4 separate regions of the Homo sapiens genome follow, and all the other regions are linked to region 2. The links are contacts of gene promoters, found by promoter capture Hi-C in blood cells and fetal thymus (Javierre and others, 2016). All regions are on one chromosome and are shown on one strand. The core of a region is centred on a gene start or on the middle of the fragment in contact, and the rest is flanking DNA. Distances in the headings are between cores, read along the strand shown. Region 1 overlaps EMC1 (ER membrane protein complex subunit 1). Region 2 holds the start of CAPZB (capping actin protein of muscle Z-line subunit beta). Region 3 overlaps LOC124903867 (a long non-coding RNA gene). Region 4 overlaps TMCO4 (transmembrane and coiled-coil domains 4).

Evidence for each region. The method cuts DNA at HindIII sites, captures the fragments that hold promoters and counts their contacts. A CHiCAGO score of 5 or more calls a contact.
Region 1: a fragment that was not itself captured here is called in contact with the fragment with the promoter of CAPZB in region 2 in 1 of 17 cell types (neutrophils); the score reaches 5.6 in neutrophils.
Region 3: a fragment that was not itself captured here is called in contact with the fragment with the promoter of CAPZB in region 2 in 1 of 17 cell types (neutrophils); the score reaches 5.6 in neutrophils.
Region 4: a fragment that was not itself captured here is called in contact with the fragment with the promoter of CAPZB in region 2 in 2 of 17 cell types (total CD4 T cells and non-activated CD4 T cells); the score reaches 6.5 in total CD4 T cells.

Annotation. Positions count from the first base shown.
Region 1 is chr1:19,236,535-19,239,612 of GRCh38, forward strand. It overlaps EMC1 (ER membrane protein complex subunit 1), which reads right to left. Exons shown (of 23, transcript NM_015047.3): 9 at 2,697-2,768; 10 at 2,261-2,323; 11 at 1,483-1,605; 12 at 608-704. All of the region lies in intron 1 of EMC1-AS1 (EMC1 antisense RNA 1), which reads left to right. Among named protein-coding and RNA genes, the nearest start is that of EMC1, 13 kb to the right of the region's middle. The HindIII fragment of the contact is 1,117 bases long and covers 1,271-2,387 here.
Region 2 is chr1:19,484,272-19,487,301 of GRCh38, forward strand. CAPZB (capping actin protein of muscle Z-line subunit beta) reads right to left here and starts at 1,268. Exons shown (of 9, transcript NM_004930.5): 1 at 1,165-1,268. The coding sequence starts at 1,167. It also overlaps a transcript of LOC105376819 not described here. RefSeq lists enhancers at 1-53, 54-561, 562-1,070 and silencers at 975-1,084, 1,115-1,844. The HindIII fragment of the contact is 2,873 bases long and covers 1-2,460 here.
Region 3 is chr1:19,298,868-19,302,078 of GRCh38, forward strand. LOC124903867 (a long non-coding RNA gene) reads left to right here. Exons shown (of 3, transcript XR_007065521.1): 2 at 3,011-3,211. Among named protein-coding and RNA genes, the nearest start is that of AKR7A2, 12 kb to the right of the region's middle. The HindIII fragment of the contact is 8,280 bases long and covers 1-3,211 here.
Region 4 is chr1:19,707,516-19,710,838 of GRCh38, forward strand. All of the region lies in intron 13 of TMCO4 (transmembrane and coiled-coil domains 4), which reads right to left. Among named protein-coding and RNA genes, the nearest start is that of HTR6, 44 kb to the left of the region's middle. The HindIII fragment of the contact is 3,454 bases long and covers 347-3,323 here.

The sequences.
Region 1 (3,078 bases), core at 579-3,078, 250 kb before region 2:
AATCCCAGCTACTTGGGAGGCTGAGGCAGGAGAATCACTTAAACCTGGGAGGCAGAGGTTGCAGTGAGCTGAGATCATGCCACTGTACTCCAGCAGTCTGAGCAACAAGAGCAAAACTCCGTCTCAAAAAAAAAAAAAAAAGCAGGTGACAGGCCAGGCACGGTGGCTCACACCTGTAATCCCAGCACTTTGGGAGGCCGAGGCAGGCGGATCACTTGAGGTCAGGAATTCGAGACCAGCCTGGCCAACATGGGGAAACCCTGTCTCTACTGAAAATACAAAAATTAGCTGGTCGTGGTGGCACACGCCTGTAATCCCAGCTACTCAGGAGGCTGAGGCAGGAGAATCGCTTGAATCCGAAAGGTGGAGATTGCAGTGGGCCGAGATCATGCCACTGCACTCCAGCCTGGGCAAGAGAGCAAGACTCTATCTCAAAAAAAAAAAAAAAAAAAAAAAAGCAGGTGACATTTGGCTATGAACGAAACACTCAGGGCACACTCCACTTGAATCTCTTCCAGAAACCTGCAGCCTCCCAAAAAACAGTCTGATTGGAACACATTGGAAGGCCTGGGGAAATAAAAAAATGGGTTGAATGAGGTCTACTTACCCAACTGCTGCAGGAAAAGTAGCAGATGATCCTCTGTCTGCACCAAAGCCCGGTAGCCCACTGAGTCATCCTTCTTCAAGAACACCTGGATATACAGCTATAAGCCACAGTCAAGACCGGTGTAGTCAGTGAGGATCCAAATGCCTCTGAGAGCACCAGACCCCAGGAGTCAAAGCCTGGACTTAACAGAGGTACAGGCCATGGCATTATTTGATGTCTAAACAATGTAGCTATTATCTGGATGCCAGTAAGTGATACATATTCTTAGGAGCCAACATAATGATGCTGGGGTCTCCCAGACCTTTCCATGGAAGAACCTGAGTACTCCACGGGTACCACGCCATTCATCCATGCTCTAATCACACCCCACAAAGTGAGCAGGAGGCCGGGATTAGACTTTCCGCTTTAGAAACGAAGAAGCCACAGCCCAAGCAGCTGAGGAACACAACCAGATGCACACAGAGGCAATACTGGGTAGTGATGAGGAGTCCAGGCTGTGGGGTTAGACCTGAATCTGAACCGCAGTGACACCTCTTACTGGCTCCGTGACTCTGGCTATGGTACTCGATCCCACCAGGCCACAGAATCATTTTAAAACCAGGTCAGGAACAACCGCTTCATGAGAGTGTTTGGAGGGTTAAATCAATTAATGTGTAAGTTAAAAGCTTAGAACAGTCCCTGGTGCACAATGATGAGCTGGCATAAATAATACCCGCCTTTACTGTGACTTCTAACAAGTCAGTGGCTCAGAGAGCACTAGAACACATGTTTAGAGAGCCTAATCCAAGCCCCATGGCTAAGACCTGGCCCTGAGGAAAGGAAGCCATGTGCTGAGAAGCCCACAGGACAGTCTGCAAAGAAAGGCTCTGCCTTACCCGCTCAGGCCGAGTGCCGCTCTGTTCCAGGCTAAATGTTATCGTGGTGTCCAGCAGCCGCCGACCTGTCTCCACGAGGTATAGGTTAATGGTGTAGGTCTGATTGAAGCAAGCCAGAGAGTCCTAGGAGTACAGACAGCACGTGTCAACTACAGGTATCCCCCGAAAGCAAAGCCCACCAAAGGAAGTCCAAGGATTGGGGGCAAATACCCTAGAGAAGGAGCCAGGCCAGAAGGGGAAATATATGCAAAGGAGAATAAAAGAGAAAAGCAAGCTAAATCCTAAGGCAGAAATAAGGTGCCTGAGTAAATAAATGAAATTACAACTACCATACTTGTCTTGGAAGCCAGTACAGAGTAGCAGAGACTTCTGAGAGAGAGGTAGGGCTGAGCAAGGTAAGACTGAGCAAGACAGGAGGCAGGGAAACGCTTAGATGGAAGCCACAGCAGGAACCTATGCCTCCAGCCAGGGGCTCATGCCTCTGCTACAGGGTAACTGCACAGAGTACTACTCAACTGTGCCAGCCAGGATCCCAAAAGAAATGGGGACGCTGAGGCCCAGAGGAGAAAGTGGCTAGAAACAGACTCTAGGGATTCTACCTCCTAATCTCCCGGTAAAATGAGATTAAGAGAAACATCATTTAATTTACAGTACTTAGGAAACCTCATTTGAAGCTGGGAACTCTAGGACCTGCTCCTAACCAAAGCTCTTCCCCCAACTCTCTTTGGTGGCCTCCTGCGTCTCTAGGTCTGGCATACTGCCCAGTGCCACACCATACCTTTGAACTAGACTTCTCCGAAAAGCTCCCCATTGACCCATCTTCAGAACTGCTACTTTTCTGCTATGAGAAAGAGAAGGACAGGAGAAAATTCAGCCAAAGGGTCACTTCCCAGTCACTGAAATGAAGCTTTTGTTTTTGTCTTCTTAGCACTTGAGAGAAGACAAAGCTCATTTCTCACCCCTGCCCACAAAGCCTATTCAACCCTTAATAGCCCCATATGAAAGTAAGGTCATCACATTAGGGTCTCGTTCCTGGGGAGAAATGGGGTGTGCAGAAAGCTCTATAGTTGAGGCAAGACCTCACTTCTCAACAGCCTCCTGCCCGCTGGGTTCAAACTGACCAGGTCAATGTGCCCAGACTTCTGATTTTCAGGGTTCCTAGTGGAGACCAGGAAGGAAAATCCCAAGTGCTGACTGTTGTTCTCAATACTCACCACTTCATTCCGACAGGCCATGACTGCAGCCACCGTCTTCTCCCCAGTGGTGGCAAAGCTCACTAGGGCAGTCTGGGGGAAAAGCAAGGCATCAGCTCCTAAATGGGACCAGTACTAGCCAGCTGCCTTACAGAGGGTCACCTCTCCAGGGAAGGCCCTTGGCCTTAGAGTTGAAAGTGCTCCCCACTTTGGAGCAGAATGGTCAGGCATTTAAGAGCAGAGGGAGGCCTCAGTTGCATCTACAGCTGAAAACAGAACTCTCCCTACCTCCAACGCAGGCACAGGTCAATCTTAAATCCCATGCTGCTTGTTCTTACTATCTATGGGGAAGCTCTCATTTATGTCCCCATATTTCCTTTGGACTAAGGAAGGCACTAGTTTT
Region 2 (3,030 bases), core at 18-2,517:
GGGTGCATCGTGTCCAGGCCATATGCTGGATCCAGGGCCTGGTGGCCCCCCAAGGCCACGGCCTCACAAGGGCGATTGTGCGTTCATCCTTGTCCTGTGGGCCACCCATCCTCGCCCCTCGGCTCCCACTCAGGCCCGGGCGCCGTGGACCCCGGCCTGCCCTGCAGAATGCTTCGCACGCACAGCACCCACGGCGGCAGCCTCGAGAAGGGCCCGCAGAGCAGCGCGCTGCCTTCTGGGCACACCGATGCCCGCCCTTCCCTCGCTGGCTCCTAGGCGGCCTCCCTAGAAGCGGCAACTGAGAAGGCACAGCACCGGGACCACCCCATCCCTGATGGAGAGCTCCCCTCGCTCCCCAAAGGCTGCAAAGAAGGCGCGCCCCAGGTACAGGGAAGGGGACCCTGGGTCGTGCACCAGGCAGGGGGCAGGACCCTGATGAGAGGCTCAGGGCGGGGACCGAGCGGGGCTGACGCAGGTTACGCTAGGAGTGGCGAAAAGTCCAGGGAAGGGGATCATGGTGGGGAGGGGGCAGTGAGGTCCAGACGGGGGCCATGGGCGGAGAAGAGGAGGTCCAGATTTAAGTTCACAGAGAGAAGAGGAGATTCAGGCTGAGGCCACGGAGAAGAGGGGAAGCAAACCTAGGCCGCTGCAGAAGGGGCTGACCGGGGTCCAGCCTGAGGCCATGGAGAAGGCAAAGGGGGAGGGACAGAGGGAGGCAGCGGCCTAGCCTGGGCCATGGCAGGGAGAAACGACGGCCTAGCCTGGGCCGGAGAGACGGGGGAAAGCAGACCTAGCCCTAGACCGGGGGAGGAAGGGGGCCCACGCCAGGGTCACCGAGGGGGTGCCTGGCTGGGGACACGGTTCGGGAGGGAGGGTCTAGCCTGGGCTATGGGAGAGACCAGCCTGAACACAGAGGTAGTGAGTGGGACTCCAGCTTGCGCCAAGGGCGGGGGCTGGGAGCGGGGGCAGGGTCACTGCCACCCAAGTCGTCCGCGCCGGCGGCACCCTCCTGGGCGGGGAGGGACCGGGTCCACCCAGGGTCCGGGACCCCGCCCCTCCCCCACCCCGGGAAGCCACCCGTCCCAGGCCAGGGATGGGCAGGGGGAGGGGGACGCGAGCTCCGGAGGGGCCCCCGGGCCGGGGAGGGGGCCGTGCGGCCTTTACCATGGTGGCGGCGGCGGCGGCGGTCCCGGTCCCGGCGTCAGTGGCTCTCCCCCCCGCAGCAGGGCCCGGCGCTTCCACTTCCCCGGGTGCCCAGGAGTGAACATCCGGGTCAGCACCCCCCTCCCCCCGCGCCGGGCCGCCGCCACCTTCCTTCCCCGCCCCGGCCCGGCCCGGGCCCGCCCCCCACGCCGCCAGCTCGCGGCCAATGAGCGCGCGGGGCTGCGGCGATCGCCAAGTATGGAGAGCGGCGCGAGAGGCGGGCGCCGACGGGGTGCGGGGGCGGGGCCTGCGAGGCGGGGCGGGGCGCGGCGCTGCGCGGCGCGGCTGCCGGGAGTCCCCGGCACGGGTTGCGGGCCGGGGCGGAAAGGTCTCCTGGCTGTCTGAGGTCCAGTCCCCGACTCTGGGCCTGCAGCAGCGAGTGGCGGCGAGGGAACCGCACCCCACAGTCCCCGCGGGCGGGGATGCGGAAGGCACCGCGGCTGGGAGGGGACCGGCCCTCCGCGCCCCACCCCGTGCACGCGCTCACTCCTGCGGCGCACCCGGAACTGCCGCCGAGCGCGGACCGGCCCGGCCCAGCCCAACCCAGCCCAACCCAGCACTGGGGGAGCGCGCCGGGAGCGGGGCAGGAGCCCAGCGCTGCCGCTCGCTACGGCAGGATCTGGAGCGCCGCGCTGCACCTGAGCCCGGGCACGAATTGAGGAGCCTCGGGCTGACGCCATTTATTCAGCACCTACTATGTGCCAGGCCTTGTTTAGGCACCGGAAGATAACAGATAAGACATAAAGATCCCTGCCGGTATAGCTGCAGACAGAATATCTGTGAGGATGACACAGGTAGAGATTAGAAAATTAAGTTCAACAGGTCGGCCGCGGTGGCTCACGCCTGTAATCCCAGCACTTTGGAAGGCCGAGGCGGGCCAAGGTCAAGAGATCGAGACCATCCTGGCCAACATGGTGAAACCCCGTTTCTACTAAAAATACAAAAATTAGCTGGGCGTGGTGGTTCGCTCCTATAGTCCCAGCTACTCGGGAGGCTGAGGCAGGAGAATCGTTTGAACCCGGGGGCAGAGGTTGCAGTGAGCCAAGATCGCGCCACTGCACCCCAGCCTGGCGACAGAGCAAGACTCTGTCTCAAAAGAAAAAAAATTAAGTTCAACAAATGCTAGCTGTTATGAGTACTGTTGAATGTGCTACAGAGAACCATTCCATTAGCCCAGAAGGGCTTCCTCGCTCCACAAAGTGACTCAAGTTTCTCTCTCCCAATCTCTCTCTCTCTCTCTCAATCAAATATTTGTTAAGCTTAGTCTAGGTAGCAGGAGAGATCTGGATTGCTAACAATATCTGCCTCCGTGGCCTGTTTGCTTTGGTTAAATCAAATTAGGCGATCTGTGAGGGGATGGTAAACTGCACAGATGACAGGAATTGTTTCCCTGAGCCAGGCCCTGTCCTCAGGGAGCTCATAGACAAGTCGAAGCTTTCACAGGTAGCCACTGGCAGAAAAAGCATACGGGTAAGTCTCGCAAGAATGGTATTGGATGAGTATTACAGAAATTCAAGGAAGAGAATGGCACACGCAGTAGATACTTATTGAGCATCTGCTATGTGCCAAGCACTGTGCTAGGCTCTGGAAATAGAGCAATGAGCAAAATAACCCACATGGTTGTGGAGCTTGAGTGTTGTCAGGGAGACAGTCGGCCACCAGGCAAATACAGTGTCCAAGGCCAGGCACAGTGGCTCACGCCTGTAATCTCAGCACTTTGGGAGGCCGAGGTGGGCAATCGCTTGAAGTCAGGAGTTCCAGATCAGCCTGGCTAACATGGCGAAACCCCGTCTACTAAAAATACACAAAGTTAGCCGAGGCCGGGCG
Region 3 (3,211 bases), core at 712-3,211, 180 kb before region 2:
TTTAAAATTCTTGTATAAAGCAGTATCTCATTAGTTTGTGTGTTAAATGCAAGACCTTGCTTCTTTAATCTGTTGAATGAACCCCAAACAGTTATATCAGTAACAGCAATTGCACAGTTATATACACAGTCAATTAAGTTTTAGCACTAACGATAATTTAATTTTAGGTGTGGCCTCTGTGGATCTGTATCAGTCCCAAAATTTAGAAAGCACAGGCATGGAAGGGTACATTTTTCTCACCTAAGGAAAAACAGTAAGATAAAACAAAACGTTAAAATAAAAAATCGGCCAGGCATGGTGGCTCACGCCTGTAATCCCAGCACTTTGGGAGGCCGAGGCAGGCGGATCACGAGGTCAGGAGATTGAGACCATCCTGGCTAACACAGTGAAACCCCATCTCTACTAAAAATACAAAAAAATTAGCCGGGTGTGGTGGTGGGTGCCTGTAGTCCCAGCTACTCGGGAGGCTGAGGCAGGAGAATGGTGTGAACCTGGGAGGCGGAGCTTGCAGTGAGCCGAGATCATGCCACTACACTCCAGCCTGGGCAACAAAGTGAGACTCTGTCTCAAAAAAATAATAATAAATAAAAAATAAATAAAATAAAATAAAAAATCGATGCCCCCTCCTCCTTCAGTCTTTCATACAGCACAGAACAGCTTCCTTAGTTTGAGGATGATTAAATATATGAGATGCTCTCCAGATCCAGCTCTGCTTCTTTAGATTTTTTTGTTCCTTCTCACTTACTTATTATTTTTTTTTGAGACGGAGTCTCGCTCTGTCACCCAGGCTGGAGTGCAGTGGCGCAATCTCAGCTCACTGCAACCTTGGCCTCCTGGGTTCAAGCAATTCTTCCACCTCAGCCTCCTGAGTAGCTGGGACTACAGGCACCTGTTACCTCGCCCGGCTAATTTTTGTATTTTTAGTAGAGACGGGGTTTCACCATATTGGCCAGGCTGGTCTTGAACTCCTGACCTCGTGATCCACCTGCCTCGGCCTCCCAAAGTGCTGGGATTCCAGGCGTGACCCACTGCGCCTGGCCTCACTTATTTATTTTTTAATTAACAAATAAAAATTGTATATATATTTAAGGTGTACAACATGGTGTCTTCAAGAATCTCTTTAGATATGAAATTGCTGAATTCAAGAGACCATCAACTATGAGATATAGTATCCGGAAGATTCTAACGGATGGGATGTGACATAGCAGAAAATGCATCTCTGATGGGGATAGTCAAGACACAGTCTCCTGGCAGGTCCCGGGGCTCACCTTCTCCACTCAGGACTGTTGCTCCAAGTGTTACAGTTTATTTTCCAAAGATAACCACTCCATTCTCTCACGTGCTCTTTGCACAGGTATCTTTGACTCTCCTCCCAGGACACAAGAGTGATGTTATGGACTTCTGAGGCTGGGACATAAAAGGCCACATGGCTTCTGCCTAGTTTGCCTGGGATGTGCTCCCTTGGAAGCCACATGCAGAGGTCACGTGTGTGCCGGTTGATGACAGCAGCTGATATTCCAGCTGGCCCTCAGCAGCAACTGCCACATGCTTGAGTGAATGTCTTCAGGCAACCCTAGCCTCCAGCTGCTAGATCACCTCTGAGACACTGAGGAACAGATGAGGCTTCCCTGCTGAGCCCTGCTCTAACAGATTTCTGAGCTAATTGATTGTTTTATTACATATTATTGAGGCACTATATACAACTGACCCACTTAAAGTGTATAATTTAATGGTGTTTAGTGTATTCTGAATTGTACAACCACCACAGTCAATTTCAGAGCATTTTTATCACCTCCCCAAAAGAAACTCTGTACTCAGTAGCAGTGAATCTCCATTTCCTCCCAAACTCCCTCTCAGTCCTAGGCAACCACTCATCTACTTTCTGTGTCTAATAGATTTGCTTATTCCAGATACTTCATATAAATGGAATCATACAATATGAGGCCTTTTGTGACTGGCTTCTTTCACTTAACATGTTTTTAAGGTTCATCCACATTGTAGATGTTTCATACTTAATTCCTTTTTTTTTTTGAAAAATGTTCCATTGTACATACAGATATTTTGTTTATCCATTCACCTATTAAGATTGACATTTGGGCAGTTTCCACTTTCTGGCTATTATGAATAATGCTGCTATAACATTCACGTAATTTTTAATAAGGACATATATTTCTTTTTTTCTTTTTTTTGAGACAGAGTCTCACTCTGTCACCCAGGCTGGAGTGCTGCGGCAAGATTTCGGCTCACAGCAACCTCCGCCTCCCAGGTTCAAGCGCTTCTCCTGCCTCAGCCTCCCAAGTAGTTGGGATTACAGGTGTGTGCCACCACGCCTGGCTAATTTTTGTATTTTTAGTAGAGATGGAGTTTCACCATGTTGGCCAGGCTGGTCTTGAACTCCTGACCTCAGGTGATCTGCCCATCTCGGCCTCCCAAAGTGCTAGGATTACAGACGTGAGACACTGCGCCCAGCCTCATTTCTTCTAGGTATACCTAGGGAGTGAAATTTCTGGGTCATATAAATGCTTAATCTTTTGAAAAACTGCCAGAATGTTTTCCAAAATGGTTGCACCGTTTTACAGTCTCAATGGCGGTGTCCTAAGTCTCCCATTTCTCCAAACCCTCAACACTTGTTATTTTCTGTATTTTATTGACTCTGATGATCCTAGTGCTTAGCAGATTTGAAGGGGTTTTGATTTGCTTTTCCCTGATAAGTACTGATTTTGAGCAGCTTTCCATGTGGTTACTGACCACCTGTATGCCCTCTGGAAAAAGGTCTATTCCAATAATTTGCCCATTGTTTAATTGGGATTTCTTTCTTTTCTTTTTTTTTTTTCTTTTTTGAGGTAGGGTCTTGCTCTGTTGCCCAGGCTGGAGTGCAATGGTCTGATTTTGGCTCACTGCAGCCTCCACCTCCTGGGCCCAAGAGATCCTCCCACCTCTGCCTCTCGATTAGCTGGGACCACAGGTGCCCGCCACCATACCCGACTAATTATTTTGGTATTTTTTGTAGAGACAGGGTTTTGCTGTGTTGCCCAAGCTGGTCTTGAACTCCTGGGCTTAAGTGATCCGTCCGCCTGGCCTCCCAAAGTGCTGGGATTACAGGCGTGAGCCAGTGCACCCAGGTGGGTTTTCTCTTTTATTAAGTTGTAAGAGTCCTATAGCTAGAATAGATACAAGATTCTTAACAGATATGTGATTTGCAAAATACTAT
Region 4 (3,323 bases), core at 824-3,323, 220 kb after region 2:
GGGAGGCTGAGGCAGGAGAATCACTTGAACCTGGGAGGAGGAGATTGCAGTGAGCAGAGATCGCACCACTGTACTCCAGCCTGGGCAACAAGAGTGAAACTCTATCTCAAAAAATATATAACCCCTTGAAGTCTGCCTGGGCACATGCCACATGCAGGTTTAGGTGCACGCCTAGCCTTCTCGGTTGTATTAGTCCATTTTCACACTGCTAGAAAGACCTACCTGAGACTGGGTAATTTATGAAGAAGAGAGGTTTAATTGACTCACAGATCCACAGGCTTAACAGGAAGCATGACTGGGAGGCCTCAGGAAACTTACAATCATGGCGGAAGGTGAAGGGGAAGCAAGCTTGTCTTCCCATGGTGGAGCAGGAGAGAGAGTGAAGGGGAAGTGTGACACACCTTTAAGCAACCAGATCTCGTGAGAACTCACTATCATGAGAACAGCATGGGGAAATCTGTCACTATAATCCAATCACCAATCGCCTCCCACCAGGCCTCTCCTTCAACACAGCGGGATTACAACGCCACATGAGATTTGGGTGGGGACACAGAGCCAAACCATATCACTTGTATAAGGGTAAACAATTCTACTCTGGGGGTTTGGGACAGCCTAGTTTTGTTAGAGGCTATTGTAGGGAAGCCTACGATGGTACTGTCACATGCTGAACCATTCTGAATGCTTCCAGACAGCATCCTCAGAAGAGGAAACAGAAAGTTCAAAGGTCAAAGACCCCCAGAATTTAGATAATTTCTGTTTCTATCTTGTGAATTGCTCTTGTCATGTTTTCAGCAGCTCACACTGGACTCCTGAGACGGTGCTTTACCACTTGGTACCCCTAAAAGTCTGGAAATTATCTTAGCTTTTTAAAAAAAAAATACATAAATAAAAAAAAAAAAACCCAAGAGCTGAGAATGGACAGCGTCATCACAGCAGCAAACTTCAGCTCACACTAGAGCCTTGATCTCAAAAACTGTGTTTAAATTAAGTTTTTTGTGAAACTAAACATTCTTAAAATGCACAAAGCGGGGCCAGCCCTTCCAAAGGGCCCCACAGAGAACACTTTCGGACAGTGTGGGGCCTTTGCCAGCGGGAATCAGGTGAAGGTCCCAGCTTCACCTTTGTCATTTCCCCCTTTCCACACAGTGAGCTTCCTTAAAGTGAGGCAAACCCTCACAGAGCTTTCTGTTATCCCAGGGCCTGCTCCTTTAGCTGCCACTCAGAAATCTCATCAAACAGCTGGGAAGGCAGCACCTCTCACTCCCACATGCCTGTCACGCTGTCAGTAAAGAGATTCTGCTGGGCTGCAAAGACCAAAGAATCACAAGTTCAAGAAGCAAAAAAGAAGGATTTTCTCCCTCCTGGTGGGGGTTCATGTGTGCAGCGAGTGATAAGGTAGAAACCAAGGAGGAATTTATTTCCTGACTGCGGGTCCAGTAAAAAGACCTTGAAGGAAACACTATGAACTGCACTAACACAAATGAAATCCATTCCAAAGATACACACGTGCACATGATAGACACGTAGAGAGAGGCCACAGAAGGGAGGGGGGACCAAGAAAGGAGAAAGGGCGGCTTTGACTGTACCCCCAAGCCCCGCAGTGGAATGAGGTTCACACTGGAAAGAATCGCTTAAAGGAGCCTGTTTGGACATATACCAGGATTTGGGATGAATTCTTTAAGGGAATGACTAAACCTTCATCTCTCCTCTTTGATTCCCATCTCTTTTATTTGGTCATGCAAAGTGATAAGGCTATTACTAACATCCCGGCGGGGGGGGGGGACCCTAAAAATTAATCTGCACTGCCTGACCTCCCCTCCTTCTCCCCTCCCCCCACCCCAGGGGGACTAAAGCTGGGTTTGTCTGAGAATAAAGCAACTGGTGGATACAATCCATGGAAGGGAAATAAATCACATCAAATGTAATGTCTGCTGTCTGCTATCATGGAGATGAAAGAGCCAGCTGACCGAGTGACAGTCTCTTCTGCATTTCAGCTGATATCTAGTGACAGCCCAGACATAATTTTCAGCCAAGTAAGAATTTGGGGACTCAAGGGTCAGGATGTTTAAATGTATCTTTGTGAGCACATTGACAAACTCTTTGGCTTTGGTTTTATCTTGCAAACATCATGGGCAATAATGTTGGCCTAACTTCACAGGGGCAGGGAATGAAACCGGAGATTGTGCTGCAAGGCTTTTTTGTTTCTGTTTGTTTTTTTTTTGTATAAAAACAAACAAACAAAAAAAGCTCTGGAATTCTATTTTTTTTTCTTTTCTTTCTTTTTTTTTTTTAGACAGAATCTCGCTCTTGTTGCCCAGGCTGGAGTGCAATGGCGTGGTCTCAGTACACTGCAACCTCCACCTCCTGGGTTCACGTGATTCTCCTGCCTCAGCCTCCCGAGTAGCTGGGATTACAGCCACCATGCCCAGTTAATTTTGTATTTTTAGTACAGATGGGGTTTCTCCATGTTGGTCAGGCTGGTCTTGAATTCTCGACCTCAGGTGTTCTGCCCGCTTCAGCCTCCCAAAGTGCTAGGATTACAGGTGTGAGCCACCGTGCCCAGCCTGGAATTCTATTTTTTAAAAATTTATTTTATTTTTTATATTTTGAGACCAGGTCTTGCTCTGTTGCCCAGGATGGAGTGCAAGTGGTGTGATCATAGCTCACTGCAGCCTCAACCTCCCAGGCTCAAGCCACCCTCCTGCCTCAGCGTCCCAAGTAACTGGGACTACAGGTGTGTGTTACCATGCCCCCATTTTTTTTTTTTTTGGATTTTTAGTAGAGATGGGATCTCACTATGTTGCCCAGGTGGGTATCGAACTCCTGAGCTCAAGCAATCTTCCTGCCTCAGCCTCCCAAAGTGCTGGGATTCCATCGCACCTGGCTGGAATTCCATTTCTTAATCCTCGTCCTCCTCTTCCTCTTCTTTATCATCATCATCTCAGTTTATTTCAGGGTAGGCTCAGGACTAAGTGCTTCATACATCAATTAATTTCCTTTACTCTTCACAACAATCCTAGGAGGTAAGCATGACCACTTCCATTTAACGATGGGAAGCCTAGCCTCCGACACGCCAAGTAATTTGTCCAAGATCACACAGTAAGTAAGTGGCATGGTGGAATTTGGTTATTCTTATATTTTCCCTCCTACTCTCCTGTCCCACTTCCCTTTGCAATCAAATAAAACCTTGAACCAAAATACATGTCTTCTGACACCTGACATCTTTCAAAATTGTGTATGAAAGCCAGAACACACACACCTGTGAAGGTGAACATTTCAGATTTTGTTGATTCAAGGGACAACTAGCAGGCTAGAATTTCCTA